Regions from separate parts of the Homo sapiens genome. Here regions 2, 3 and 4 are each linked to region 1. The links are contacts of gene promoters, found by promoter capture Hi-C in human tissues and cell types (Jung and others, 2019). All regions are on one chromosome and are shown on one strand. The core of a region is centred on a gene start or on the middle of the fragment in contact, and the rest is flanking DNA. Distances in the headings are between cores, read along the strand shown. Region 1 holds the start of FRZB (frizzled related protein). Region 2 overlaps NCKAP1 (NCK associated protein 1). Region 3 overlaps NCKAP1 (NCK associated protein 1). Region 4 has its middle 70 kb from the start of FRZB.

What was found. The method cuts DNA at HindIII sites, captures the fragments that hold promoters and counts their contacts. A contact is called where the count stands out against the background at its distance.
Region 2: a fragment that was not itself captured here is called in contact with the fragment with the promoter of FRZB in region 1 in 2 of the 25 tissues and cell types used here (heart left ventricle and mesendoderm cells).
Region 3: a fragment that was not itself captured here is called in contact with the fragment with the promoter of FRZB in region 1 in 2 of the 25 tissues and cell types used here (mesenchymal stem cells and neural progenitor cells).
Region 4: a contact is called between a fragment that was not itself captured here and the fragment with the promoter of FRZB in region 1, in 2 of the 25 tissues and cell types used here (mesenchymal stem cells and neural progenitor cells).

What each region holds. Positions count from the first base shown.
Region 1 is chr2:182,865,343-182,867,981 of GRCh38, reverse strand. It overlaps FRZB (frizzled related protein), which reads left to right and starts at 1,345. Exons shown (of 6, transcript NM_001463.4): 1 at 1,345-1,907. The coding sequence starts at 1,430. RefSeq lists an enhancer at 1,214-2,182. The HindIII fragment of the contact is 7,330 bases long and covers 1-2,639 here.
Region 2 is chr2:182,990,901-182,993,539 of GRCh38, reverse strand. All of the region lies in intron 8 of NCKAP1 (NCK associated protein 1), which reads left to right. Among named protein-coding and RNA genes, the nearest start is that of NCKAP1, 46 kb to the left of the region's middle. The HindIII fragment of the contact is 4,014 bases long and covers 1-2,639 here.
Region 3 is chr2:182,972,793-182,975,431 of GRCh38, reverse strand. All of the region lies in intron 15 of NCKAP1 (NCK associated protein 1), which reads left to right. Among named protein-coding and RNA genes, the nearest start is that of NCKAP1, 64 kb to the left of the region's middle. The HindIII fragment of the contact is 7,019 bases long and covers 1-2,639 here.
Region 4 is chr2:182,795,754-182,798,392 of GRCh38, reverse strand. No RefSeq gene overlaps it. Among named protein-coding and RNA genes, the nearest start is that of FRZB, 70 kb to the left of the region's middle. The HindIII fragment of the contact is 5,379 bases long and covers 1-2,639 here.

The DNA.
Region 1 (2,639 bases), core at 96-2,595:
GGGCAGAATTGTTGCTGAGAATAACAAATAATATCTGCCATGTTATCCGTGAGCAAAATCAGAAAAAAAAAGTCCAAGTGTATTAGAGCTGTTAGTTTCCACGTTAACCCTTAAGGAGCAAAGCTCAAGAGTTCTAATTCCACTAGGTGGGGGGGGCGGGAATAGAAGGAAAAAACCCCTTTTCCTTGCTTCTGGTGGCCTATTTGTAGTCATGAACAGCATTTCTTTGTTTCTCTCTCTCTTTTTTTTTTTTTTTAAAGGCAATCCTCCCCCCACCTCCTCCCCCGCAGTTATTGAAAATGGAGACCTCTGTAGTCACTAGCTCTGGGTTGATATGGCTCCACCGTTGCTCGCAGGGGTCTGTGTTTTCCGCTACTTGGACAAAGTGACATTGCTTAAGCCTTTCCCCCCACCAGGTCTGACTTTCTGCAGAGCCAGTGATTGCAGAGGAAAAGCTGTAGTTTGCTTAAAGGAAATACCTCCAGGAAGGAGGGTCTCGGGTGGGTTCCCAAGTGGGGAACTAGGGGGACTTTTCCGTAGGGAATTGGGGTGGGCTCTTCAGTGAGGGGCTAGGGGCTCGTTTCTGGGGCCAAAGACGGGTTCCCTAGTGTGAGGGCGCGCTCGACTCGGCGCTGTCTTGGGGTCTCGCACTCGCACGGCTTCGCACCCCACCGCCTGCGACTCCCAGGCCTTCTCTTCCCCGGGCGCCCACTCCATTCTCGGGAAGAGCAGCCGGCACTGGAGGGCAGAGACTGCCCCAGGGGCGGAGCTCCCTCTCAGGCGGGAGGTAGGAAAGTGCAGAGCCGCCCGGGCAGAGGCACAGACGTCCCTGCGGGGCTCCTCCTGAGCGTCCCTCCTGCCAGCCAGGGTCGCAGCCGCAGCGGCGGCCGCAGCTCTTAGCCCACACAGGACTTGTAAACTCTTACTGCACCCTTCTCTCCCATTAGGAGCTTTTCCTCCCTCCTTCCCCCCAACCCCTCTGTCCTCCTCACTTTGGGGAATTTAATGCTTTCTTTAGCATCTTTTTGTGTGCGTGATCTAGGGGAGGAGACACCCCAGAGCTCCAACTAGCTCTCAGCTGAATTCTACTTTTGTTTTTATGTCTTCCTCGCCTCCTCTCGTGTCCCTCTTATCTGACTGATCTGCGAAGTCTGATGCTTCTGCCAGAGGGAGAGGAATAAATAGATGTTGCTGCTTCCGAAGGCTTAGACGTTGGGAAAGAGCAGCCTGGGCGGCAGGGGCGGTGGCTGGAGCTCGGTAAAGCTCGTGGGACCCCATTGGGGGAATTTGATCCAAGGAAGCGGTGATTGCCGGGGGAGGAGAAGCTCCCAGATCCTTGTGTCCACTTGCAGCGGGGGAGGCGGAGACGGCGGAGCGGGCCTTTTGGCGTCCACTGCGCGGCTGCACCCTGCCCCATCCTGCCGGGATCATGGTCTGCGGCAGCCCGGGAGGGATGCTGCTGCTGCGGGCCGGGCTGCTTGCCCTGGCTGCTCTCTGCCTGCTCCGGGTGCCCGGGGCTCGGGCTGCAGCCTGTGAGCCCGTCCGCATCCCCCTGTGCAAGTCCCTGCCCTGGAACATGACTAAGATGCCCAACCACCTGCACCACAGCACTCAGGCCAACGCCATCCTGGCCATCGAGCAGTTCGAAGGTCTGCTGGGCACCCACTGCAGCCCCGATCTGCTCTTCTTCCTCTGTGCCATGTACGCGCCCATCTGCACCATTGACTTCCAGCACGAGCCCATCAAGCCCTGTAAGTCTGTGTGCGAGCGGGCCCGGCAGGGCTGTGAGCCCATACTCATCAAGTACCGCCACTCGTGGCCGGAGAACCTGGCCTGCGAGGAGCTGCCAGTGTACGACAGGGGCGTGTGCATCTCTCCCGAGGCCATCGTTACTGCGGACGGAGCTGGTGAGTTTTGACACGGCCCACCCTTCCCTTACCCTACAGCCTCCTCAATTCTTGGAGTCCTTGTTACTAGCCTTTACTCTCTAATTTTTTTCTCTTCGGATCACTTAATCTCTCCCATAACTGCTCCTCTATCAAAGACCCTTCTTCTTCTTTCTTCTTTTTTCAAAAACAAAAACAAAAAAACCCTCACCTTATCACCTTCCAAACTGATGCACTCTGGCACTGTGTTCCAATAGGCGATCTTTCTAAAACAATCCATGCATTCCAAACCCATCACACTTCTACTCCACAGGAATCCTTCACTTCAACTCCTTACATGTGCAAGTAGCCACATTTTGTAAAGTGATGCTCTTTTTCTTTTAAAATGTGTTTATAATCATTGGGTTTTCTTTGCTGATTCTCAGGCAATCTCAGTCATCAGGTTTCTGTATCTTTAGTGTCTTAGATGCTTGTTAAGATTGTGTGGAGGAAACAGAAAACTGAAGCCCCATTTTCTTCTAATTAAAAATGCCAAGATAATTTCAATAACCTTACTCTAACCGACAGATGTTAGGGGTATGTGTTTGCTCAAGATCCAGTTTGAGCAATTACCTTCACCTTAAATTTCCCCCTCCTTTCAATGAGATAAATTGTTCTTCCATTCCAGAATGAAACAATTGTGAAACATTGCTATGCACTGTTAATTAGCTTCTGTGGCTTGCCATAGAGCTGGCAGACTGAAATTACTGAGCT
Region 2 (2,639 bases), core at 105-2,604, 130 kb before region 1:
TACTATTCCATGGAGACACACAGGTTTAATACAGAATGAGAATTTCTGTAATATAGATAAATTCCTCCTACTCACCCCTAGGCTCACTGCCACAGGGGAATAATTTTGAAGTGTTTGTGTTTTTTCATTCTTACAGGTTTTGTTCTTGATTTATTAACCTTTAGAGAATAGAGTTGGCCCTTTATATCCTGGGGTTCTGCATCCAGAGATTCAGTCAACAGCCAATTAAAATACGGGAAAAAATTTCACAAAGGTCCAAAAAGCAAAACTTACTGCATAATGAGTATTACATTGAGTCCACGCAAATGAAGTGATGTGTAGGTATTGTATTAGGTATTACAAGTAATCTGGAGGTGATTTAAATTATGCAGGAGGAAGTGTGTAGGTTATATGTAAATACTACACCATTTTATATAAGGAACTTCAGCATCCACAGATTTTGGTATCTGTTGATGGTCCTGGAACCAATCCCCTACATTGAGAGATGACTGTATTTGTTGACTTTTTATTACAGTGTTTCTCAAACTATGGTGAAGGACTAGTTTTTCTTCTTTAATATTTTTTGGATTGATCCTTTAATAAAATAAAGAAAATGAATTACTAGAATTACCAGAAAAACAAAATAATAAAGACATAAAATACAAGCTCATAGTTTTTATTACTAGATTCAGTCTAACAGATTATTAAGTTTCTACTCCAAAATCACTGTGAAATATTTATGAAAATTTCTAAATACCCTGTTCCAATACTTAGTCTCATTATGGACTGATACTTTGAGTAGTGTGTTTTTAGTATGAAAGAGGGGAAATTTAACAATACTATCTGGCCGTAGCTATTTTTATTAATTATATTATTTTTTACATTGACCAGGTTTGTGATATTTATATTTTCTTCTATAAAGATAAGTGAAATTATCATGCTTTGTCTCATAGTTTATTTAGAAAAACAGCTTTCAGAGTTTTGATCTTGCTCGGTTGTGTGGTAATTATTAGTTGTTTTGTGCTTATGGATGTACAGATGAATAATTGAGTTAATTAGTAGAGTTAGCTGTCATTAGTGACTTCTGGATTTTGCTTCCCACTGGTCTTTATTTTAAACGGGAATGCTGATGGCATGAGTTTGTGTAATGAGCCGGTAAGTCGATCAGGAAGCAGGCTCCCCTAATGGGGAATATATGGGCATGGAGAAGGCAGATTTGGGATAACCACAGTTGCCAAAATAAGGAATGAATTTTGCTTCTTTCATGTATTTGAACCCTGAGTAGAGCTAATCTGGAGGTTAGGAGTTGCCTCAAATTCTGCACTTCTCTTTTTGGAACTACTACCCAGACTAGGATTTTTCTTCAATAGGTAGTCTACTTTCTTTGGACCTTTGTTCTGGATTAGTTCAAAGTGTGGTTCCTAGACCAGCAACATCAGCAACACCTAGGAACTTCTTAGATGTGCAGAATCTTGGTCCCTACCCAAGACCTACTAAACAGAAACTCTGCAGATGGATCTTAACAATCTGTTTAATGTACTTTCTCAGTGATTCTGGTGCAAGCTAAAGTTTAAGAATCACTGCTCTAGATTATAGCCCGATGCTAAGAGTTGTGCAGGACCTAGAATATTGAGGACCCAGCACTTGAAGTACAGATGTAAAATTAATTATCCTGATACGTATTTTAGGGTTCATTTTTGGGTCTGTTGATTGGACTTGGGAGACTCCTTAGGAAAGATTTTTTTTCCTATCTCCAGAGTTTTGGATTACTAATTTCTGCCTTGTTTTTTATATTGATAGTCCAATTTTATCTGTTTTCTGCCTTCAAAGATTTTCTTCAACTTTCTTGTCAAGACTTGGTCTTCTGTTTTAAGAGCTACTTTTAAATTTTTTTTTTTTTGTCCTTTCATCCTAATTTTGGTAAAGGAGATTGATGTGTAGTTTAATTAATAAGTCATCCCCCTAATCTTGGGCAATCTATTTTATTTTATTTTATTCTTTTGAGACTTGAGTCTTTTCTGTCACCCAGGCTGGAGTGCAGTGGCATGATCTCAGCTCACTGCACCCTCCACCTCCCAAGTTCAAGCGTTTCTCCTGCCTCACCCTCCCATATAGTTGGGATTATAGGTGCCCACCACCATGCTTGGCTAATTTTTGTATTTTTAGTAGAGATGGGGTTTTCACCATGTTGGCCAAACTGGTCTCAAACTCCTGACCTCAAGTGATCCATCTGTCTTGGCCTCCCATAGTGTTGGGATTACAGGTGTGAGCCATCATGCCCAGCCTGGGCAATCTATTTTAAATTCATTTGCCTTTTTTGGTCCAATTTAAACAAATAAATATACTTTAACTCATAACACGTATGTTAAAAACAAACACTTTTAACTTGTAAGTGATAAAAATTTTCAGAGAAACTTTGTATTAGTAGTAGCAAGTATTTTGTAAGTGTTAACGTACAAAGGTGTAAGACACTAAGTGAAATCTGATTTCACTTGATATTAGGGTGGAAAGTCAAGTACATAAGAGGATAATGTTTTATAAACAAAATTTCTCTTGAGGGCTCTTTAATCTTTCATACATGTATTCTGTTTCTTTGATTGTGTGCCAGATTGAATAATTGGCTTGTTTTAGGGGCCCTGTTGTATGAAAAATATTTTTGT
Region 3 (2,639 bases), core at 87-2,586, 110 kb before region 1:
CCAACCTCAAAATGCATAAGCACTTTTCTCTTTTTTGTTCTATATTCTCTAGGGAGCTTATTTTTAGAAATGAAGACTTTTATAAATAAAAGCATTAAATACCTTACCAGTTAGTGGGAGATCAGGGAAGTACACTTGAAATACCAACATCCCAAAATGTTAAATGTGTATATATTATAGGTTATTTTCTTATTACAAATAAAGTTTTAAAATTGACACCTCTTTGTTTTTAAAAAGGCAATGAAACAATACAAAAGTAGAACTTGTAAAAAAAAGAAGTGGAATTTCCTCTGCCAAAGGATATACATGTTTAAAACTTTGAAAGTCATTGTCATAAAGCTTGAACTGCTTCAATCTCCTGTTCTGGGTTTATAGGAGTGCCTAAACCAATACTTGGGCTCAGAGAATTTTAGAGATTTAGATGCATTTCAGATGCACCCTTACATTTGAGTTATTCATGTGAGAATTTTAGCCTTTTTCAGTCACTGCAAAATAAAAAGCATTGAGTGAACATGAAGAATGTAGACCTGATTATTCCTATGTGTAGATTTTTAAAGTTTTTTAAGATTTTTATAAGAGCATTATTAGCTAGCTATCTGATTTTTTTTTCATGTAATCTATACCTACTTGTGTTAGTTTCCTAGGGCTGCCATAACAAAGTACCAACTAGATGGCTTAAACAATAGAAATGTATTATTTCATAGTTCTGAAGGCTGGCAGTCTGAAAGCAAGGTGTTGGCAGGGTTGGTTTGTTTCAAGGACTGCAAGGGAGAACCTCTTCCATCTCTCTCTCCTAGCTTCTGGTGATTTGCTGGTAATCTTTGTTGTTCCTTGCTTGTAGTTGCATTACTCTAAAGGCATTCTCCCTGTGTTTCTTCACTTCATTTTTCCTCTTTGCATATTTCATGTTCAAATTTTCCCTTTTTATAGGGCTACCAGTTATATTTGATTAGGTCCCATTCAAATGACCTCATTTTTATGTGCTTAGCTCTGGAAAGACCCTAATTCCAAATAAGGTCACATTCTGAGGTACTGGGGGTTAGGATTTAGGCACATCTTTTCTTCGGGGATACAATTCAATGCATAACATTGCTGTTAACCACGTTTAGAACATGCAGTCACTCAGACCCTTTCTACTGCATACAGACCCTTTTTTTTTTTTTTTTTTTTTTAGTGACAACAGGACAATGCATACAAAGGAAGGAAAGAATGGGACATAACACTAAGCCAGAGAAGTGTTCACTAGAAGTAGAGAACAAAAGTGCAAGGTAGCAGGCAGGGTCCAGAATCTAGAAGGTTTACATAGGTATTGAAAAGCAGCTCAAAGGTGAAAGTTCCAAGCCTACAGATTAGACTGTAGGATACAGAAGATAAAATACTGAGCAGTATTATATAATCTGTAGAAAAATAGCACATTCATCTTTTGAGGATTTTATAATCTAGCTATGGAGACAAAGCATAAAAAATGTAAAAAATAGCAGCTGAAAATCTGAAAGATTAAGAGATGTCATAGACAGAATATGTTTATCAGTTAATTTCAGTCTTAGAAGGGATAAAGCATTTTTCAAGTTAAAATTGCTTTGAATAGGAAAAAGGAAAGGACAAACAATGAGTAAAGAGCAAGTAAAGAGACTTTTGAGTATAAAGGATTACTGTAAGAAGGGGAAAATATTCACAAGAACTATGAATGATCTGCCTTTGATCACTGACCTTTGGTTTCAGGTAGAAGTGCAAGAATTGTTAGGTAAAAGCACATGGCCAGAGAGTGGTGAAGAGTTCTATAGATAGCCAGTAGTGGTTGAGTAGAGCAGACCAGAAGAGTAAGCCTTTGGGAGAATTTTAGTAGTGTACTTTGTGCCTTCACTGGTGTCCTATTTAGTTTGGTTCTAAGGTCATTGCTTTTTTATAGGTCACTTTCATCTTTCTCTGTCCTTTTCCTACTCTTAAGAATTCTCTTTGTATTTTTGTCATTCTTTTCTACTTCCTAAGTGATCTCATTCTGTTGTGTATTCCATCAGTCCCTTAAGCATTTTTAGTTGCTCTTTCAAATATCTTCTCTCGTCTGTCTTCTAATTTATTCAAATTGTTTATATTCTTTTACTTAAACCTATTCTTTTTTAGTAACATGTTTCTCCCCCCATTGTTGTCAAGCAGTTAAATCATTATCTTGTTTTGTTACCATCCATTTCTTCTGAATTTGTTTTCACAATGTTATTTAAATTCTGATTTAATTTTTTTAATTTTAAATTTTTATGAATACATAATAGTTGTACATATTTATGGGGGTACATGTGATATTTTGATACAAGCATACAGTGTATAATGAACAAATCTGGGTAGTGGGAATATTTCATCACCTCAAACACATATCATCATATTGGAAACATTCCAAATCTACTCTTCTGGTTATTTTGAAAGATGCAGAAAATTATTAACTATAGTTGCCCCATTGTGCTATACTAGTTCTTATTCCTCCTAACTGTACTTTTGTACCCATTAACCAATCCTTCTTTATTCCCACTTCCTACCTTCCCTACTCAGCTTCTTATAACCATCATACTATTCTCTGCGTCCATGAGATCAATTTATTTAGCATCCACTTAGGAGTAAGAACATGTGACATTTGTTTTTCTGTGCCT
Region 4 (2,639 bases), core at 48-2,547, 70 kb after region 1:
GACAAGGTATGTAGCTTTTTTCTTTCAGCATAACTACTTTGAGTCATCTATGTTGTTGCATGTATCAGTGTTTCATTTTTAAATTTTATCTATTTTATGTTATTTTATTTATCAGAGATGGGGTCTCTCTTGGTTGCCCAGGCTGGAGCGTAGTGGTGCGATCACAACTCACTGCAGCCTCAAACTCCTAGGCTCAAGTGATTCTTTCACCTCAGCTTCCAAAGTAGCTAGGACTACAGGTGCACACCATCACACCTGGCTAATTAAAACTTTTTGTTGTTTTTAGAGATGGGGTCTTGCTATGTTGCCCAGGCTTGTCTCAAACTCCTGGACTCAAGTGATCCTCCCACCTTAGTCTCTCAAAGTGCTAGGATTATATGTATGAGCCACTGTGCTCAGCCTCATTCATTTTTATTGAGAAGTATTATTTTGTGTGGATTATTTATCCATTCACCTGTTGATGGACATTTGGGTTGTTTCCATGGCTGTTACATATGAAACCATGAATAGTTACAAGCAAGTCTTTGTATAGACTTATGTACCTTCTAGGTAAATACCTATAAGGAAATGCCTGTATTATATGATAGGTGTATGTTTAACTTACACTGTTAAACTTCTAAAGTGGTTGTACAATTGTGTATTCCAATAGCGTTATATGAGAGTTCCAGATCTTCCGTTTTCTTTTTTCTTTTTTTTTTTTGAGAAGGAGTTTCACTCTTGTCACCCAGGCTGGAGTGCAGTGGCACGATCTTGGCTCACTGCAACCTCCACCTCCCAGGTTCAAGTGATTCTCTTGCCTCAGCCTCCCGAGTAGCTGAGATTACAGGAGCCTGCCACCACGCCCAGGTAATTTTTGTATTTTTAGTAGAGACAGCGTTTTGCCATGTTGGCCAGGCTGGTCTTGAACTCCTGACTTCAGGTGATCCACTCGCCTTGGCCTCCCAAAGTGCTGGGATTACAGGCATGAGCCACCATACCTGGCCAGATCTTCCATTTTCTAGCCAATATTTACAATGGCCTATCTTTAATTATAATGATTCTAGCAATTGTGTAGTAGTATCTTATTATGGTTGTAACTTGCATTTCCCTAATGACTAATTATCTTGAGCGTACTTTATGTGTTTATTGTCTGTACTTTCTTTGGTGGTGTCTTTTCAAAGATGTTTTTGATATTGATATTTTAAAATGTTTCTCAATTTAGGGTTCTCTGATGTTCCCTCTTTATTAGATTCAGGTTATACACACCCAGCTGGAATACCATAAAAGTAATATTTCCTTCTCAGGACATTATATCTGGAGATACACTTTATCCCTTTGCTCCCCATTGGTAATACGATCACCTGGTTGAGGTGTAATCATCCTTCTACTCTATAGTTACTCTTTTCCCCCTTGTAACTAATAAAGTCTGTGGAGAGACACTTTGAGACCACAGAAATGCTTCCGCTCCTTATTGAATTTCCCCAATTTAGCATCCTTTTTTTTTGGATTACTTTTTTTCTGAACCAATTTTTGCTAGTATCATCACAAAATGTTGATTTTTTAAAAAAAATAACTCCAGCACTCCTTCATTTATCAGTTTACATGGTGCTATAAGGAAGAGCCTTTGTTGGCTTCTCTGTCTTTCCTTCCCTCCCCTTTTATGCCCCCCTCCCTTTCTCATTCTATCATCAGTATGGCCTCAGGGACTCCTATTTTATTCAATGGGTTATAATTTATTACTGACCTTGTATTGATGTCTGAGATTTGGACAGAGGATGTCCCTTCAAGCTGCCTTGTGTGTCCTTATGACATAGGTATTTTAGTTTTTGAGTGGATCCTTACTTTCTGTCATAAAAAGATGTTGTAGCCCCACCTGTACCTTTTCTATGGCAGTCCTGAAATCAGTAATTTTTCCAACCAAGGAATGAAATTTAGAAGCTAAGATCTGGACATTACATGCTGAGGTTTTCTGCTGAGGTGTAATTGCTTTTAGACCTTTTAAGCAGATAGAGCTACAAAACGTATCTATCCAGTGGTGAGCTGGAAAAGTTTAACAACTAGGTCTGGGGGAAGGGGCCAGAAGACCTAATTTCTAGTATTTGCCAATTTCCATGGTGTAAGTACTGGCTGGTTTCAAGCTACTAATGTGAGGTCACTAAATGCAGATTTGGGAAAAGATGCATAATTGTGTCTAATGAGCCAATAGGACTAAGCTCCAGCATACCACCATGTCTACCCATCCATCCATGCACACACCTACCTTCCCTGTTGGCTTACGCCTCCAATTTCAATCCAACTCCACTTTCTTGACTTTATTCTTTCTGCATTTGAACTTCTTTTCCCCCATAATGAGAATCCCAGCTCTCAACAACATCAACATATTAACTCATTTGCTCAGTTCCATGGTATACAGGGAATTTAGGAACTGCTACACCCATATCATAATTAAAAAAAAAAACTACGAAAAAGAGTTCAAGATTTATTTGCATTTTCCCTAGACTGCACACATACAGTCAAATTAATTTTTCATAGTTCCATGGATGAGTTTCCCTTTTCCCTTCAGTTATGTTTCATTTGAAATAAAATTGAGTTCATTTCTATTTGTTTGCATTCAGTTTCAGAGCTTTTTTCGCATTTTTGTTGACTTTATTTTTTGAGTA